Linked DNA regions of Homo sapiens: regions 2, 3 and 4 are each linked to region 1. The links are contacts of gene promoters, found by promoter capture Hi-C in blood cells and fetal thymus (Javierre and others, 2016). All regions are on one chromosome and are shown on one strand. The core of a region is centred on a gene start or on the middle of the fragment in contact, and the rest is flanking DNA. Distances in the headings are between cores, read along the strand shown.

Evidence for each region. Contacts are between HindIII fragments. The CHiCAGO score rates a contact against its expected background, and 5 or more counts as called.
Region 2: a fragment that was not itself captured here is called in contact with the fragment with the promoter of B4GALT6 in region 1 in 1 of 17 cell types (M0 macrophages); the score reaches 5.6 in M0 macrophages.
Region 3: a contact is called between a fragment that was not itself captured here and the fragment with the promoter of B4GALT6 in region 1, in 1 of 17 cell types (M2 macrophages). The highest score is 5.9, in M2 macrophages.
Region 4: a fragment that was not itself captured here is called in contact with the fragment with the promoter of B4GALT6 in region 1 in 1 of 17 cell types (M1 macrophages); the score reaches 6.5 in M1 macrophages.

The regions. Positions count from the first base shown.
Region 1 is chr18:31,682,968-31,686,158 of GRCh38, forward strand. B4GALT6 (beta-1,4-galactosyltransferase 6) reads right to left here and starts at 1,614. Exons shown (of 9, transcript NM_004775.5): 1 at 1,345-1,614. The coding sequence starts at 1,459. RefSeq lists a silencer at 1,711-2,750. The HindIII fragment of the contact is 10,803 bases long and covers 1-3,191 here.
Region 2 is chr18:30,997,083-31,000,556 of GRCh38, forward strand. The region is part of intron 14 of DSC3 (desmocollin 3); the gene reads right to left. Among named protein-coding and RNA genes, the nearest start is that of DSC3, 44 kb to the right of the region's middle. RefSeq lists an enhancer at 104-678. The HindIII fragment of the contact is 2,840 bases long and covers 357-3,196 here.
Region 3 is chr18:30,962,298-30,965,911 of GRCh38, forward strand. No RefSeq gene overlaps it. Among named protein-coding and RNA genes, the nearest start is that of DSC3, 79 kb to the right of the region's middle. The HindIII fragment of the contact is 2,065 bases long and covers 452-2,516 here.
Region 4 is chr18:31,077,651-31,081,100 of GRCh38, forward strand. It overlaps DSC2 (desmocollin 2), which reads right to left. Exons shown (of 16, transcript NM_024422.6): 10 at 2,446-2,702; 11 at 2,197-2,339. Among named protein-coding and RNA genes, the nearest start is that of DSCAS, 22 kb to the right of the region's middle. The HindIII fragment of the contact is 3,284 bases long and covers 300-3,450 here.

The DNA.
Region 1 (3,191 bases), core at 364-2,863:
AGGTTTTTTGTTTTTTCTGGCCTAAAGGAAAACTGCAATAATGTTAAAATATTCTTCAAACTTTACCCTAAAACTTCTATTTTGGGATACGTCAACGTTTCACAATGCATTTCTTCTTAAACATCATCATCTGAGTTTATACACCTCACTGAATCCAAAAATTAATTATTAAAGAAAAAGTCTCATAGTAATTTTAAGAAATGAAGCAGTCTGGATTAGGTTTCCATCTTCCTTCCCTGCTGCAATTCACTGCAATAATCTACTACACTCAAGACAATGCCCTGATCATTCCATCTGAAAATTCTGCAGGTGTTTTCACTCTGTAAGGGGCATTACATTTTTAGCTAACTCGGAACAAAGAGCACTGGCTCAAACGACCACAGTGTGTAAGGAGAAATGAGAGGAGATGCTCACTGTTACTAAGTAATTGAACATTAAATACGTAATAGCCAGGAAAAACTCAGAAAAGTTTTGGAAATATGACATATTTTAATATGCATGTGAAGTTCATAATTCTCATTCACTAGAATTAACGCCGCATTGGCTCCTTTTCAACAAATGGGGGACGAGGAATTCGGATATTTAATAAAGAAGTTAATTCAAGCAGTTTTACAAAAGTGTATTTTGCACCAAAGGCCAAAAAATGATAAACCGGTTAACATTTTAAACTACAAGTTCCCTTAGATAACGGTTATTTTAATCACTATTTTCTCAGAAGTCATCCTAACAGGTAGCAAAGGCAACGTACCCTTGAAAATAACACCCAAGCAGACTAAAATAATGGAGCATTGTTTTTACAAGACAACTCATCGCCTTAAAATTCCCCAAGTATGGCACAAAAAGAATGGGGTCCACTGACCCCATTCTAAAAAAGCGACCTAGGACCCTAGAAAACACACATTGTTGGACTCAATCACATTCCCTGCTGCTGGCTCCTCCATATTTTTACAACCAGTTATTATACCCGAGAGTGTTTGAATAAAACTACGATTAAGCACTCAGTTTAGGCTTAAAGACTTAACATTAAATGGATAAAGCTGTCATGAACACTCAAGAAAGCGACTAGGGCATCCCGGGCCATCACACTAATTTTGCTACGTCTATTTAATGCAATCTTTTACGTTATTAACAAACATGCATTAACAAAATGCATGCATTAACAAAACTCACATACCAAAGCCATGCCCTGAAGCAGTTTGACACGTCTGAAATAACATTTAAAACAAAACGCTTTTCTGCGGGCCCCTGTTTGAACAGCTTCCAAATCCCAGAAGTAACATCGGATAACAGCCTGCGCTGGCTGTGGTGTGACCAGGGGAAGCGAGGGTGTGTCTCGGTGCTTACCGATGCCTGGGGCCACATAGATGAAGTACAGACAGGACGAAGAGAGGGAGAAGAAGAAGATGAAGGCGAGGAGAGAGCGATTGGAAACCCGCATCATCCGCCTGAGCACAGACATCTTCCTCTTCCCTGCCAGCAGCCCAGGCTGCGCTCTCAGGCCGGACTCGGGGCCACTGTCCAGGCCCTAAACTTCCATAAATGTGCTGAGAACCCCGAGACTGCAGCGGGGTCCGCGCGGGGAGGCTCTGGGGAGAGGGCCCGAGCGGAAAAGAGGAAATGGGAGGGAGCGGACGGAATGAATGGGAGGCCAGAGAGTCGGGGGAGGGGAGGCGCGGAGGCCGAGGGACAAGAGGTGGAGGGGGGAGAGGGGACTGGGGGCTAGGGGCCCGGGGACGGCAGGACGGAAGAAAGCCGGGGAAGGGCGAGGAGGAGCGTTTTCTCCGCCAAGCAGCGGCGGGAGGAGGGGCTGCAGGTGGGAGGAGGCGCAGGCTGCGCGCCGCGGCGCCCCTGCGGAGAGGGGCAGCTAACTGCAGCACGCCCGGCTCCGCTGCCCGCGCCCGGCGGGGTCCCGCCGCGAAGCCCCGTGCTTAAGGTCCGGGCCGCCCGCGTCCGCTCGGCAGGCCCTGCGCCGCCTCCTACTCCGGGCCGCGGCGTCTCCTGCCTGCGCGGGGCTAGCGTGGGCGCCGGGGCCGCAACCAGCGCGCGCCACGCGCGGGGGCCCGCGGGGGCCCTCGGGGCCGAGGAGCTGGGCGCTCGCCTGCACCGAGCCGCCTCCTCATGCCGCGCCGGGCCCCGGCGCCCCGCGGCCGCCGCGGGAGCTGAGCACAGGCCAGGGCGGCGTCCCGGCCAGCGACGAACGCGCTCCGACTCCGGCCGCCGCCAGCTGCCTGCCTGGCCGCAAGGGCGGCAGCGGCATTACCGCCGCGCGCCCGGGGTGAGGCGCCCCCGCCGGGCCCGCGGACACCAGGCGAAGAGCAACCGGGCGACGCGCGCTGCGGGCAGAGCCGGGGAGCCGGAAGAGCAGAGGCCGAGCGCCGTCGGAGCCGCGTCTGGTTGGAGAAAGAGGCGGACGTGAAGGGGCGGGGGAGCCGCGGAGGAAAACCGGGACCGGCGGGAACGTCTCGAGACCCCTGCGCGCTTCGCGCGCTCGCTCGGAACTCGGCAGGCGGCGCTGCGCCGGGCCCCGAGGAAACCTGGAGGTCCCCGCCCTCCCCGCGCCCGAAACACCGCGCGTCCTGATAGGCCCGCGCCCAGCAGCCCCCTCCCCGCGCCCGCCGCACCGGGGCCCCACCGCCTCCTGCGTCACCGCCGCCCCCGCCCGCCCGGGGACCCCGCGGTGACCGCGCTGCTGGGGGTTGAGGGACGCGTTGCGAGCCCCGGATACATTGTACCCTGGGGGTACATAATGAAGGATGCTGTACCTGAAAGGAAAAGGGCATCTCCAAAAGGGGACTTCGCGGGTGGAATTTCCTTCCAAAATCCTCGAGGAACAAGGTGTATTTCCGACCTGGATTAATGAATCCCCCCTCCTATCCCGCACTTCCTGTGGAAACAGTGTCAGGATGTGGCGCGGACCTATGTGCGTCCCTTATACCAGGACTTGCCTTCAACGCTGAAGGTGAACCCTGGGTCATCCTCGCTGTATTCAGGCGGCGCTGCAAAGGCTTCTGGGCAGCCAATAGGCCCTTGAGCGCCTCAGCCCCATCTTGCTTCAGTAGGCAAACGGACGGGTGTCTTCATCCACCTCCTAGGCCGTGGTCTACCCTTCGTTCAAATGTTTCTTCCTGCTAGCTGACTGTCCAGGTCCTTAGCTGTATCACATTGTTCAAATGTGTGTGCGCAGGTGTTTC
Region 2 (3,474 bases), core at 527-3,026, 690 kb before region 1:
GGAAATGGATTCTAAGTTGTCATGAGAAGGCAAAGGAGAGAGAATATTTGTTCAACCTTTTATTCATTCATTCATTCATTCATTCAACAGACATTTATCAGTTTCTAATTATGTGCCCAGATACTGTCTTCATTCATTTTGTGCTGCTATAACAGAATACCTGAGACTGGTTAATTTTTAAAGAACAGAGATTTATTTCTTACAGTTATGAAGTCTGGGAAGTCCAAGATCAAGGAGTTCACATTTGGCGAGGGCCCATCCCATGGCAGAAGGTGGAAGGGCAAAAGAGCACGAGTGAGAGGGAGAGGGAGAGAGGGAGAGAGGAGCAACAGGGGGCTGAACTTGCTTTTACAATAAGCTTTCATGATAATAAACCCATTCTCATGATAAGGACAGTAATCCATTCATGAGAGCAGAGCCCTCATGACCTAATCACCTACTAAAGGTCTCACCTCTCAACACTGTTGCATTGGGGATTAAGTTTCCAACATATCAGCTTTTAGGGACAAATTTCACCATAGCAAATGCAAAAGCCTAGGGATATAAAGATAGACATAGTCTCTCGATGGCTCCAAGAAGATCTTATTCCAGGGAGAGAGAAAAACAAATACTTTGAGAATGTGATTACTCTACTATGTGGGTGAGCACAAAATGTTACAAGAGCACAGAAGTAGAGCATTAAAATTCAAATCCAAACAGGGTAGGTGGAATAGAACAGGTAACTGGAAAAACTCTGAGCTAAGAGACTAGGGACTAGTAGGAGTGGGACAAACAAGGCAACCACTGTAGAAGGGTCTGGAGGCAAAAGGCAAACAATGTCCTTCAGGGGTCCCCAACTTCAATCAGTTGAGAACAGCTACCACATAAGATTAGGGTTGGGGGGAGTTAGAAAGGTTATAAAAGGCCATAAGATATAAAGATCTATATGCTATGCTAAAAAAATAGACTTTATTATGAAGATCACAGGGACTGTGAAGAATTTTAACTCATTACAGAGAGAAACACATTTCAAAAATATCATTCTAGGCAATAATGTGGAAGACAAATAAGAAGACAAATTTAAGTTCATGGAGATCAGATGGGGGTCACTGCATCTGATCTGATCTGATATTCCAGGTAAAAATGATAAGGACCTAAGCCAAGGAGGAAGCAGTGATGACTGAAAGAAGTAGATGGACTCCACAGAGAGCCTACAAGTATCTAGATGGATGAGGCAATCAAGGACAGAGTTAGAAATTATTCTTTTGTGTTCCATGAAGGCAAACAGGTAGATGGTACAACTCACTGAAACAGGGAGGAAAGATGTGCTTATGGGCAAGAGGAGAGTGAGCAACTAAAGTTTGAACATGGTAAACATTAGAAACATGTGGGATGTCCAAGATGAATATATGAATATGCGGATTTGGAACTCAGATGAGAGATTTGAGCTGGAGATATAATTCTGGGAGACACTCCCAAATAGGTGATAGTTGAGGCCATGGGAATAGAGGACCTATCCAGAGAAAATTGTCAACCAAAATAAAAAAGGGCTAAGGATAGAACCACAAGAAAAATCACATTTTAAGGGGAGGGTAAGAGAAACACAGCTGTGACAGGCCAGATCTGAATAGCCACTGAGATAACAGAGAAAACCAAAGTGGCAGGACCCTGAAGCCATGAAGAGAGAATATGGTAAGGAGTGGGAGCAGCCAATGATGTTAACAACAACAACAGAAAAATCACAGCAAGGTAAGAATGGGTTCAATTAAAGTATAAGCGCCCATTGGATTTAAGTGAAAGAATAGCCATTGATGAGCTTTGCCAAAAGAATTTCCAGGGAGTGCTGGGTAAGCAGGAAGGAGTATTATAGAGAAATCAAATATAATTTTTTCTTTCCTAAAGTTCAGTTTGAAAGAAAAAGAGAGATGTGGAGGGAACTAGAGGATGACAAAGAGTCAAGGAAATGCTTTAAAATGAAAAAGTCTTCATTAAACATTAACTTAATACTGGAACTTCACTCCGACCCTCTGAGCCATAGGACAGAAGTTTAGTTACAGTGGTAACCTCGACATGTCAGTTTTCATTACAAACAGTTACATTACTTTCAGGACAAGAACCTCCATTACATTCAGGTTCCTTTGTGCCACCTTCCTATCAATTTAAATTTTTTTCTACTTAAAATGCAGTCTTTAACTAAATTGAAAGATTTTTCAAATACAGATGATTTATTGAACCTGAAATATATCTACAAAAGTCATACTTACTGTCGCATTGCCTTAGAAAAAAATACCAGAAAAAAAGAATTGAAAAGTAGCCATTTGGTGGCAGTGCTACCCTACATTTTTTTATTTAAGTTGCCATTACAATAAAATTCAATTACAAAAAAGGAAAAAAAAAAACCCTCCTAATTATTAAATCTTCTTGATGGTATAATTTCGTTGTAATAAACACAAGTTCAAAGATCATATTTCTAAGTGAATAAAAGAGGAATTTAAAATAAACTAAAAGCAATGCTGAGCCTACAGGGCTAGCTTTCATACTTTTATTCTCTGCTCCTTTCTGTCCTCCTCCATCCACATTTCCCAAAGTTCCTTCTCACAGGGTATCAACAACTCTTTATCCATGTCAATAATTTCTAGGTTTACTTTTCCAGTCCTGATTATTCACCCAACTCCTAATCCCATGTGCATGCCTTCAAGTGAAATTCAGATCCAAAGCTAAAATGATCACTTTTACTCATTGTATTAAAGCAAGTTTATAGATTCAAGATGAAATTTTATGTTTTTGTATAAATTAATAATTCCAAGCCCCTTTTAGAAGTGTTCCTAACACAGAACAGGTACATATTGTGAAATGGCCACTCAATATCATCAGCTCTAGCATTAAATGGCAAAGAACAGATATTAAGTAAAAGTCATCCATGCCGGTCTTAAAAATAAAATAAGAACTTACTATGAGTCAAGGACTGTCAAGGGATTAAACCTGCTTTCTCGCTGGAGAGATCATCACAGGTTTCTACATGTAGGCACGTCAAGCATAGATGGGCTATGATTTTGCATGGTGGTGTGGAGGAGTTGAAGAGAGAAATAGTGAATAAGAAAGGCATCTTCACCCCGAGACATAGAAAAGGCTGGATATGTAGTCGTTGTCCCTGGCTATAGCCTCTGCCACTTTGACTCTGCTTTTTACTTTGTTCCTTAAGTTCAGTCAGTCAACAAGCTTATCCTTTATACCTTTGAAATATTTCTTATTCATCCCTATCTTAATATAACAATTACCATCATCCTGGTAGAATTAACTCATGCTTAAACTAAGCTTTCATCTTCCCCAACCCTGATGTCTTCCTATTCTCACTGATCCCCCTACTGACTCAGCTTCACGCTGCTTGATTATACCTCTCTCCTGTAGAAAAGCCTTGGCTGGCTCTCCTTTACCATGAGAATAAATCCGAAATCCTTAGTGCAGCATTTAGAAGTCCTATCTCCCACTTGTTTC
Region 3 (3,614 bases), core at 234-2,733, 720 kb before region 1:
ATGCTGGAATTAAGCTTAATATTTCAACATTTCCCGTTACTCTTTCATTAGGAGCAACTAACCATAAGGAGTGGAAGATGTATCTTTGTCAATGAAGTAGGCATTCAGGGTACAAATGAGATATATGTTGGCAAATTATTAGAAAAGAACCAGGTGATAAGGATTTGAAAAACCTTGCTTTCTCCTTCCTAACATGGTTTAGCTCCAGCCTGAATATTTCTTGAGTTCTTGATGAAAGCAAAATTATATCAGTCAGTGATTCAGATATAACTTCATGTTTGGAGGAGAGAGTTGTTTCCTAACAGCCACCTGAAACTCTAAGCTAACTTGCTTCTCCCTATTATAAATATGGAATTCTACAAAATCATCTGTCTCCCCTGGACCCCTATCCTAGCTACAGTTTCATTGTCACTCTTCCAGGTCCTTCTGGTTTGATACTAGTATCTTTCCAAGCTTCTGTTTAGTCTCTTCAATCTTGAGACATTGTTTCCAGACGTTTCCCTCATTTCCCCTTCCTGTCTTAATTCACACTTCCTTCCAGGAATTATCCTAGCCATACACTTTCTGCTTATAATAATTCTGTCTTCCTTCAATAAGTTTTTGTGATATTATAAAAATAACATTCCTAAGATCAATATGTTCATCTAGATATAGATGAAGAAATCTGTTAACTTGTTAAAATAGGTATTTTGGTTTTCTTTGAATTGTGCAGAAGAAACAACGTTCCACCGCCTATAAAGCAGTGCTTCTCAAACCTGATTGTGTAGAGGAGAACAGATTTTTTTCTCACCCATCATAAGGTGCATTGCTGACTCCTCATGACAAAAGGCAGTTGTTCATGTCATGGCAGCCTTCAAAAATGAAGACAGAAAGACCCAGGGAAAACCATGTATTGTTATGGACAGTCATGCAGAAGTTTGAATGGTAAGAAATTGAAGGGAAGTTGACAAGGTTTGTTTGTCCAGATCCTTCTTGGTGTTTCTGAGTGACATGCCTTTCCTCCGGTTTTAGGGCAGGACACCTTTCAAATGAGGGTGTTCAGAGGAGAAGCAGCGGAATAGATGGGAGAGGTTTCCTAGGTCTTATGACCTGCTTCAGGGGATAATGGAGGAGGAAGAGTGAGAGTGGCCTTCCTGCTTCTGCTGGTTCCTCAAATGCCAAAGAGCCCTATTTTGGGGTAGCACTTTCTGCACCACATCAACCACACACAAGAAATACATGCTGGGGCCCAAGGCCCACCTCAGGGGCTCTGATTTAAATGACTTTGGGTGAAGCCCAGTCATCTGTATTTTTAAAGTGATTCTGATATACAATCAAGGACAAAAATCTGTTGTAATGTGTTAGATTATAGAACTCTGGGTAAAAAGAGCAGCCCTGAGTAAGGAAATTACTACCAGCTCAGGTTCAGTAGAGACAAAGAAAGTACTGAGAACAGATGTTCTGAGGTAGACTTGCATGAGAAGAGGCAACAAAAATAGTCAGGGAAGCTGGGAACCAGGGAACAGGGTAGACTGTCAATGTTGAAAGAATTTAAAGGCCATTTGTGAACAATTTATACTCAAAACTAAGGACAGAATTAGTAACAGGAAGATGTTAAGGATGTATTTAATGACTTAAACTAGGAGCAGAGTGTAAACTAAGATAATGAGTCAGGCCGAAATCAAATAAAAGAGATAATAAACCTACTCTTAGAAAGAGAGATGATCAAAATTAATGCCAAATCTAGTTAGTAAAAGGAAAAAAAAAAAAAAAAAAACCAAGAAAACAAAAAGAAACCTTCCCTAGCCCCCTGAGACTACCTCTACCATCTATCTCTTCCTCTTCCCTCCACAGCCCAGGCAGCATGGCTAAGAAATACGGTCCTATTTTTAATACTTCTTTGCCTCCAGGTACTCATCCACTTGTCCACTCACAGTGGTCGGCTTTCCAGAACAAGGACTCCAGAGCCACTCTCACTAGGTTCATCTGTGACCTCTTTATTGCGATATTGCATGGGCCTCTTTCAGTAATCTTATGGGGACTCTCAAGCAGACTTTGTCAGAGTTGATTGCTCTCTTATTGAATTCCTCTCTCTTCCCTTGGCTTCTATGACATATCATCCTACTGGTTATCCTCCTATATCCTGGAAAAATCTTATTTTTTCACCTTAGTGTTCTCTTCTTACTTTTCTCAGGATCTGTCTTTAGCCCACCTCACACTCCACACTATACCCAGGCATTTTTATCAACTCCTGTGGTTCAACTGTTCTCAGAAGGCTGATGATGCACACATCTTTGTCTCCTGTACAGACACCTCCTCCAAGCTATAGAACTTGCATGTTCTCTCAGATTTTTCATGGGCACATTTACACTCAATATGTTCAAAACTGAGTTCATGATCTTTCTCTAAATTCTTATGATCAGATTCCCTTAGTCACCAATGTCAGAATTAATAAATCATTCTTGATGTTTTTTCTCCCTCTCTCCCCTATGCAAAATGCATAATCCTCCTCCACAAGGTATGGTCTAAGGACAAGAAGCTTTGACATCACCTGGGAGCTTGTTAGAAATGCAGAATCTCAGGCCTCACTTCAGACCTATTGACTCGGAATCTGTAGTTTTCAAGATCTTCTGGGTATTCTTACATACAGTAATGTATATACACTGCTCTGAAATTCACACCTTAAAAATGCCTCAAATTCAACTCCCACTCTTTATCTCTGATGTAACTATCATAAGCTGAGCTGTGGGTTCTCAAAACTTGCTGCATAGTACAATCCCTTGGGGTTTTTTTTTGTAAATACCAATGCCAGGTTCTAGACCTCCAGATTCTGATTTAATTCATCCAGAGTGGAGCCCAGGAATCTGTAAGTTTAAAAAGATCCCCAAGATGTTTCACTATGTAGCCAGAACGAAGAACCATTTATCTAAGCCAAAATCGCCCTTTAACTACATGATTATAATAGTCCTTAAACTAGTTCCTCTGTCTTCGGTCTTTCCAGCCCTCCTTATTTCCAATAGAGTGATCTTTCTTAAAATCTGTATGTAAGAACTTTCACTGGCTACTGTTGGCTCCAGCACTGAGTCTGCACAGTTCAACATCTGCCCCCTGCTTATTTATCCAAGGCCTTTTCTCGCCATAGCCTGTGCTCCCCTTGTACTCTTCTGTGTCGCAACCAACTGAGTTATTTGCAGTTCATCAAATGGACCATGGGGTTTTGTGCCATCGTCTTTGCTTTTAATGCTCCCTTTCTCTGCAGTGGCCTTCTTGGTCCTGATGCTGAAGATCTACTCTTTGCATACTCAATTTAAGCATCACCTTCTCTGTTATGCCTATCCAGACCTTACCCTTACCTCCCTGTGGTAGACCTCATCACTCCATCTCTTTGCCACTTTTACATTTAGTGCATATCTACAATACCACATTATAGTTATATTCTAATTATTTTTTGTTATTCCTAACTCTATCAGTCTACAAATTGGAAGCAAGAAGCATGTAATTCCCTTCTGCATCTCCAGAGCTTCAGAGACCGTAAGTATATATGGAATGCATATACGAAGGAATAAAGTAAAATTCATACATATTTCTCTTAAACTTGATTAAAATGACGTGTTCTATAATTTGAAGATGTGCCT
Region 4 (3,450 bases), core at 692-3,191, 600 kb before region 1:
TTCATTGGAATGTCAGCATAAAATGCTCATCTTCTAGTAATAATATAATTCTACATGGACAAAGGCTAATTCCAAATATGAAGTCACATGAGGTGCACTATCCATGGTTTCATGCTTTATGTGCATGATGCTCTTCAGTCAAATGTTTTAAAATAGTTGCAAGTAACCCCATTCTAACAGCTGGAATAATACAATAGAAACATTAATCTCAAGCTCAACTAGATAGAGGTGATTTCTGGGTAAAGCTGCCCACACAATTTAGATTAAGAAGTTAAGAAGAAAAGATAAATTGAATTTAAAGCTTAAGAAATATATATGTTTAGGAGAGGGGAAGGCAGTTAAGACCAGAAAGCATGCAGGAATGTGTGGGCAAGTTTAGACATAGAAGCCTTGAGAGAGAGTTTTAAAAAGAGGAAGCAATTGCTGCGGAGATGTAGGAAGGCAGGAAGTGAGCACCAGCCCAAGACAGCAGTATCCATGAGGGAGGAGAGGTTTCCATTAGGGAGTGGCAGGGAGAACCCAAATGAAATTAGCCAGTATAGATTTTAGAAAAAGGTTTTTCAAAAAATGACACACTTTTGTATAATCTCATTTCATTCAATTCACAAAGTAAACACATGTGGAATTACTGATTCACAGTTCTCTCACACAGAGTAACACAATGACTCCCACCCTCTTCAAAAGAAATGAATGCGAACAGCCTCATTACACATTTATTCTATATCACAATGATGATAAGCAGTGCCCCATCTCAATTCCATAACAAATATTTGATCTCTCAATCACTTAAACTCCTCTGCAACAGACGAGAATGTAGAATAAAATTATAGGCAAAATTTCTAATTTCAGACAGCAATTTTTATCTCAACTGTCAATAAACTATTTCCAAGTGCCGTTGAGTTTCATGTTTTTTTTTTCTTTTCATTTGCCTTTGACCAACAAGTATTTCTTGGCAAAAAGACATGAGAATCTGAGGCCTTAAAGGACAGTCTTTAATTAGTTAAAGACAAATCAATAATGATTACAACTTCAGCAATTTAACAAACTGAGTCATTTCTCATTAATTTACAGAGAACTGGAATACATAAATCATCTTCCAAAATCACTTCTAAATTCTAATTTTGCAAGTTATAGTATAATAATTTGTTTGTTATATTTAGCATATTTATTTTACAAAGACATAAAGTTCAAATTCATGTTATAGAAATTATATTTTATGCACCAAACGCGTCTCATAAATAATCATCATACTCATATTTCTCTCAATTTTATAGAATGCACAGAACATAATTTTACATTTTATATGATTATATGAATTCATAGTGTTTGTCTCTCTAATTTTATAATATACTATTTATTTACCATGATCATAAATATACCATGATTTATTTTTATATAATGTCTTTAATCAGAATTCTAACCCCCAAGTATATTGTTAGCTTCCTGTAAAAAGTTAGAGCTGTTTTCCAGGACTGCACTGTGTAAGTATGTTTTCCAGGACTGCACTATGTAAGTATGTTCTCACTTTCCTACAAAGTGAACACTTTAAGCGAAATAAGTAGATAAACTGAAACAAGTTTTGTTTTTGTTTTTGTTTTGTTTTTGTTTTTGTTTTTGTTTTGAGACAGAGTCTTACTCTGTCGCCCAGGCTAGAGTGCAGTGGCGCGATCTTGGCTAACTGCAACCTCCACCTCCTGGGTTCAAGCAATTCTCCTGCCTCAGCCTCCCGAGTAGCTCGGATTACAGGTGCATGCCACTACACCCAGCTAATTTTTAATATTTTTGGTAGAGACGGGATTTCACCATGTTGGCCAGGCTGGTCTCGAACTCATGACCTCAAGTGATCCTCCAGCCTTAGCCTCCCAAAGTGCTGGGATTACAGGCATGAGCCACCACACCCAGCTGAAACAAGTTTTACTAAAATAATTTTCTCAATTTTTAATAATTTTAACTTTAATAAATTATGGTCTCAAGTGTTTCTAAGAGTAAATTATTTTATAATTACATCTAAAACTGAGAAGGCTATTAGAAAGCAGACATGAGTTAATAAATTATAGTAAACCTCTTACTTTATATTATCAAGAGATATGAAAACAGAGTGCATGTATCCAGCTTTAAAATGTATACTGTTGGCTTAAACACTGAAGATGTATGTAGCCAAGGAAGTATGTAGCTGGCTTAAAGACAAATTCTTACCTTGGTCTGATGCAAGGACTGTAATATTATATATGCCATTTTTGATGGTCTCTGCCTCTCTATCCAGGCTTCTGAAAACTTTGATTGATCCTGTATTTTCATCAATGGTGACCCACCCTGTTGGATCAGTTAATTTCTTATACCTGTTGGTAATGATGAATTAAAATAATAAAATTTATCATATGCTAAATTATAATAACGTAACAAAATAAGCTATATATTTTAAAACTAAAATAGAATGGTAAGTACCTTATGCCACTGCTACTTCTTGTTTCTGGGTCATATGCTTTATATCCATTGCTTGTTGTTCCCACTTCTGCATTTTCTTTCATGCGAACAGTCTGTATTGGAGGGTTACACTCAGGGCCCTCATCCTGATCTTCTACATTAACAGTAACTGTTGCTGTGCTCATGGCTGATCTTGGACTAGCCTCTCTGGAAAATGGAGCTTCATTAACTACACCAATTTGCAAGATCATCTGTTGCTTTTCTTCATAATTCAAAGGCTACGAAAGCAAATGTATTGAAAAATCAGATGAACTCATTTAATATTTGGCAATGCTAACGAGTATATATAATGTTAAATTTGGAAATATGTTAAGTGTCATGTTGGGAATAACCACGAGAATATGAAACATATATCCAGTGATATGGTTTGGCTCTGTGTCGCCACCCACATCTCATGTCAAATTGTAATTCCCAATGTTGGGGGAGGGACCTGAGGGAAGGTGATTGGATCATGGGGGTGGATTTCCCCACTGCTCATGATAGTGAGTGAGTTCTCACAAGATCTGGTTGTTCAAAAGTGTGTAGCACATCCCCCTTTGCTCTGTCTCTCCTGTTGCCATGTGAAGATGGGCTTGCTTCCCCTTTGCCTTCCGCCATGATTATAAGTTTCCTGAGGCCTACCTAGTCATGCCTCCTACACAGCCTGTGGAACTGCGAGTCAGTTAAACCTCTTTTGTTTATAAACTATCCAGTCTCAGGTAGTTCTTTATAACAATGTGAGAACAGACTAATACACCCAGAAACCCAGTGGTGGTGGAGACAGAGGAGTTCTCCCACTGATTCAGTACTTGGGTAAAGCTGGAAAAAAAAAAGGACAGAAAATTGTTCTTCAACTGCAAATTTAAGATAAGTAGTATAACAGGTATTGATGAAGATTTCAGAGAGTATTTAATGAGGGTTCTTGGATATTAATACATGAGATACTCCTTTAGGGGATTCATACTATAAACAATAGTTATTTACTAC